Regions from separate parts of the Homo sapiens genome. Here region 2 is linked to region 1. Evidence: promoter capture Hi-C in human tissues and cell types (Jung and others, 2019). All regions are on one chromosome and are shown on one strand. Each heading gives the region's core, a stretch centred on a gene start or on the middle of the fragment in contact. The rest is flanking DNA. Distances are from core to core; before and after follow the strand shown.

What was found. The method cuts DNA at HindIII sites, captures the fragments that hold promoters and counts their contacts. A contact is called where the count stands out against the background at its distance.
Region 2: a fragment that was not itself captured here is called in contact with the fragment with the promoter of FRRS1L in region 1 in 2 of the 25 tissues and cell types used here (adrenal gland and dorsolateral prefrontal cortex).

Annotation. Positions count from the first base shown.
Region 1 is chr9:109,165,959-109,168,610 of GRCh38, reverse strand. It overlaps FRRS1L (ferric chelate reductase 1 like), which reads left to right and starts at 1,362. Exons shown (of 5, transcript NM_014334.4): 1 at 1,362-1,710. The coding sequence starts at 1,473. The HindIII fragment of the contact is 7,141 bases long and covers 356-2,652 here.
Region 2 is chr9:109,243,336-109,245,987 of GRCh38, reverse strand. EPB41L4B (erythrocyte membrane protein band 4.1 like 4B) reads left to right here. Exons shown (of 26, transcript NM_019114.5): 15 at 2,306-2,370. Among named protein-coding and RNA genes, the nearest start is that of EPB41L4B, 76 kb to the left of the region's middle. The HindIII fragment of the contact is 6,336 bases long and covers 1-2,652 here.

The DNA of each region.
Region 1 (2,652 bases), core at 113-2,612:
TGAATTACACCTCAATTCAGCCATCAGGATTAATATGTTTAAATTCCAGTTGGACAGCCCACTGTTAGCTGATACCTAATAGAAAATACCTGACTTCTAAGTCCCCCATCATGTCTCCCCTGTTTCAACAGCACTACCCTTATCTCTCAGCCAATCAGGCCATAAAGGGTTAAGATCACTAGTTTCCTTTTGAATATTAACATTTCACAATATTGTGTACATGTGTGCATGCCACTTACAGCACTGAACCCTATTGATCCTTACCTCTATGATCTTCCCTAATCTTCATTGCATCATGTCAATGACTAATCATGAGAGATCAGGCAGTCTGACTTCTAGGTCTGCATTTGGGACCTCTATGCTTTTCTGCCTCCATAATTATTTTGTTTATGCAATAAAATAAAATAATAAAATAGGAAAAGCAGGTTAAAATGCTGGCTCTGCAACACCAGCCTGAAAGGAATTGCGTCCGCCTCTCTGATGGAAAACAGCTTAGCAATTCGAATATATCACCCCAACAACCATCATCAAAAGAGAACCCTGGGACCTGCCATAAAGCAAATGCTTGGTGTGAATCAATGGATGGCTGAGTAAATAGCCAAAAGTGAACTGCAAGCAGCAGGAATGGATTTGAGAAAAATCAACAATTCAGCATGGCCCTCAGATACGGTGTGGGCCTTCCAAGGCCTGCGCGTGCTTGCTGCAGGGAAAGAGAGTAAACCAGAAGCCTAGTTTTGAAGGGGAACAGGTTACCTACTGGCACCAGCCTCTGTTGATTACACACCGCAAGAGCCTGGAGAGGAAGCAGGTGAATCCAGTTTTCTCTGTCTCTAAACACCTCAGTTTACCTAGCTCTATTGTGGGGGTCTTGCAATTTCAAGTTCCTTCTGTGATGATCCAAGAAATAATAGGTCTAGCAAGTGCTTTATGTAAACCAAAAAGTGCCGGCACAAGGTTGAGGAGGCAGCACTGACCAGGTGTGTCCAGGGTAAACTCTCTAGAGGAGCGTTTCATAAATTGAACGTGCATTGGGATCTCCTGGGAATTTTGATGAAATGAACATCCCGCTTCATGGGTCTGGAGTGGGGCCTCAGCGATGCTAACAAGCTTCCAGGTGATGCTGATGCTGCCGGTCCGCGGACCACACTCCGGAGTAGCAAGGGGCCAGAAGGGCCAAATCTGCCTGCGTGGAGGGAAGTCGGGGAGATGGGGAGAATGGAAAGAAGGACGGTAGAAGGGAAGCTGCTAGGAAGGAGAGATCGGTGCGGGGAGGAGGGGGGTTCCAAGAAGAAGGGGGAGGCTGCGGTGCTGGAGCGAGGATGCGCAGACCGAGGCAGGGAGGCGGGGGTGCGGGAGGCTCCGCGGCTGCGCGGGCGCGTGCTGGTGGCCTCGGCGGAGGCTCAGTCCCGGCCCGCGCCCGCGGCGCCCCCGCTGCGGCCCGAGCGGCCTGGCTGCGGGATCTGTGCGCACGGATGGCGCGGCCGCCCCGGCAGCACCCGGGGGTCTGGGCGTCGCTGCTCCTGCTGCTACTGACGGGGCCCGCCGCCTGCGCAGCCAGCCCCGCGGACGACGGTGCGGGCCCGGGGGGCCGGGGACCCCGGGGACGCGCGCGGGGGGACACGGGCGCCGACGAGGCGGTGCCGCGCCACGACTCCTCCTACGGCACCTTCGCGGGGGAGTTCTACGACCTGCGCTACCTGTCGGAGGAGGGTGAGGCTGCGGGAGGGCGAGGGGTTGCGGGAGGGGAGACCGGGGGTGGGGGACCGAGGATCGGGGGAACGAGGAGAGGGGGCGAGGGAGGGGGAGGGGGTCGGAAAAGATGTCCGTGGAGGCAGCTCTTGCAGAGGCGAGGCCAGGATGGGGAGCGCAGTGCCCAGGCCTCCGCCGGCCTGGAGGAAAGGCCCAAAGAGCTGTCAATGCCTGCCGCCCGCTTTACAGATGGGGAGAGTGAGGCTGGGAGAGGGAGGGGTCATCCAAGTTCTGCAAGGCTGTGGATAGGGGTGGGTGCTGAGTCTAAGCTCCCCCAGTTCTTAGATCTGGCTTCCACCTTTGCCGCCTGGGGTTGGGTTATAGGGGAGGAGGCCGCCATCTGGCCAGGGCAGCTAGGGGGAAGCAGAAAAACCCCAACCTAAAGAGAGAGGTTGCCTTATTTCCTCCCTGTCTGTATTGACTTAAATTTGCAGTGACCAGCGCCCACCTCGTAGCATTCTGTTCCTGCTCACTGACCCGTCAGAGCTGGGTCACATCAGCCTCCCCACTCCCATCCCTCCTCTTTTATGACGCCACATATGTTATGGTCCCCTAGTGCGAGCCACCATTGTTGTGGCCTGCTGGGCCCGCAGACTGGGAGTTTGTCAGCCAAGGGCCTCCCTGTAGAGCTGCTTCAACGAGCACAAAAGCCAAGCGGATGGTGGTCAGAAGGAATGGAAACTGGCCTCTTTAAGCAACTTTGGGAAGTAGTGACTTTCCTTTTCTTCTGCTAAGAGGGATATCCAACCATCAAGCTGGGGTTTGAAGTGTTGAGTCCCAGGAGCTCATATCTGTTAGTGGATGTGTCTGTTGTTAGGATTAAGTTCAGCTGTATACAACAAGCAAACATTAATAGCTTCAACAAGATAGAAGTTTCTCTCTTACAGAAAGAAAACTAGAAAT
Region 2 (2,652 bases), core at 112-2,611, 77 kb before region 1:
CAAAGCAGCTGAGCACTGCCTGTGCCCTCTCCGCATAGCCTGTAGTGTGTTCTCACTGTGCGTTTTCTGCTTAGAGTGAACATGAGGCGATTGTTGAAATCAGATCTACTGAAACTCATCTAGGCATTGTTATCGCAACATCATTGGCAACCACGGGTCCTTTGGACCTTGCCAATCTTAGAGGTCTTGTGTTCTATCAAGGGTTGGGAATAAATTGACCGGGAAGAGAACGTCCTGAGAAGTGGCCTGATTGGCATGTGAATACCGTGAAGGGTATTTGAGAGGATGGTGTTGCAGCATTTATCTTATTTCAAGCACTGCAAGGTCAGCCAGCTGCAAAGGATGGATCTCTGTGTTCTCAATGAGGACGCTGTTGGCATTTGGGGAGGGAGAGTTCTTCATTGTTTGGGACTGTCCCTGGAATTGCAGGATGATTAGCTTCCCTTTTCTCTCTTACTATGACAAGCAAACATGCACACAGTCATTTCCCATTGTCCTCCAAGGGATATGAGTGTACCAGTTGAGAACCAGCTGGGTTAACACTAAAATACTCCTTGACAGTTGAGAATGTGAATAAATTGCCAGAGGAGACCAAGGAAGTTTCCAAAATCTTTTTCCAGGTCTGTGGCTAAGGTTCCCACCTCTCTCTCTGATGAATCTGATTTGGTTGTGTTTAAAGCCAGAGGAAAACATAGAGGGTCCAGTTCTAGGTCAGCCTTTCTCTATTGTTGAACAGCCAATGAATGGAACCTCATTCTGGGCCTGTCTATGTGATCAAAACACCTGGAACAGTTAGACTCTGGGCAAATCATCTAAACTCTGTGGGTTTCTGTAGCCCCTAAAGGAGAAATATGCAGAGATTGCAGCAGGGAGATGCTAAAGCCCTGGTCAGCTCCCAGATCCTGCTACTGAGGTATTTTCTCCAGATTCCTTTTCCTGCAGCATGTCCTTCCGGGGGCTGCAGAGTCTGCTTGCTGACAGGCGTCTTTGAAGGAGAAAGGAAAGGCTGCTTGAATACAGAACAGGCAGGGAGGGCATCTCAGGTCCATGAAAATGGAACGAACAGAACTGCTGAGATTCTCTGTGCCAGAGAGCAGGCCACTGCTTACTAAGCAAAGTATCCTGAGAAGGAGGGGAAGAAATAATTAAAAGAGTAACAGTGGCAAGACTGTAGTGACTTAAATGTCAGGAGGGCCTAATTTGCCCCTTAGGAGATTGAGCCTTGAGAAGCCCCTGACTTCTGCTGATGTCTAGGACCACTGCCCTCTGCAGGCCAGAAGTGGAAAGGCAGGCTGCTACCTAGCCGGCTAGGGCTGCACCTCAGTCCGTTTGTGAGTACAGGGTCTGTGTTCTCTTCTTAAAATGGACAACTTCCTTCAAAATTAGCGGGGTGTGGTGGCACGTGCCTGTAATCCCAGCTACCCAGGAGACTGAGGCAGGAGAATCGCTTGAACCCAGGAGGTAGAGGTTGCCAAGATACTGCCATTGCACTCCAGCCTGGGTGACAGAGTGAGACTCTGTAAAAAAAAAAAAAAAAAAAAAAAAAAAAAAAAGACAACCTTCAACCTCCTTCCTTCTCTTCTTTCTCTTTCTTCCTTCCCTTCCCTTCTTTTTCTTTCTTCTCTCTTTCCCTACCTGCCTTCCTTCCCTCCCTCCCCTCATCCCTTCTTCTCAAACTCTCTCCCTCCCTCCTGTTTTATCAGGATGATAAGCGCTCTGGATGGTTTTGTTTGTTTTGGTATTTTGTTTTGGATTGCATTTTAGAAGATTATTTTTATTGCATAAACCAGAGAGAAAGAAAAAACCTTCACCCACGGCCCTGCTGCTTCACTTAGCATCCCTGTCCAGTCCTTGTCTGTGTGCAGATGTAACTGTTCCACATGGTCATTGTCATTTTCAGCAATGACAAAAATTGTTTCTGAAGAGAGAAGTTGCCTCCCACTCTCCCCATCTCTCTGACACCTTCCGCCTCTTCCCTTGGGAAGATGAATACAGCTTGTCTCTGGTACTCCGGACGACCCCCTTCAAGGCCGGTGTTGTCACCTTCTAAGGGCAGCTTCCCAGCCCCTTCACAGGGAGCCGCCTCTGGAGAGGGCAAGAACCGGCACTGGGTGCCAGCCCCCAGCCTTTGTCAGAGGGGGAAACGTGATCGTCCTGGGAAACATCCACCCCCTAGCCAGGGTCTATAGCCTTTCCATTCTTAGTCCCCCAGCCCCTCGGGTGGATGCCAGGAACAGACAAAGCGAATGAGGACCATTGAAATTAAAAGGTCATCAAATAATCAAGTTTGGTGTTTTATTTCTAGCCTCAATATCATCCTAATATCCATCCCAGCCAGCCCCGGTGGCATCCTCACTCTCCAAATGTCAGGTAAGTGCTGGTGCTTCCAGAGCTGCACCTTCGAAAGCTTTCCTTTCTCTAGAAAAGTTCAGATTCTGCTTAGTTAGGAGTAGAAAGTCTGCATCAGAAATAACCCTTAAGGGATGCATTGTCATGGCCGAGATGAATAAATTTTCAAAGCAAAGGTAGCCAGTGATGTGTGTGGATGTATCAAAGGTATGCTTTGTGAAATAAAAAATGAATTGATTTTTTAAAATCATTCTGATCTCATATATTCTTGGTTTTTAGTTTTGTGTTCAAGATGTTACTGAA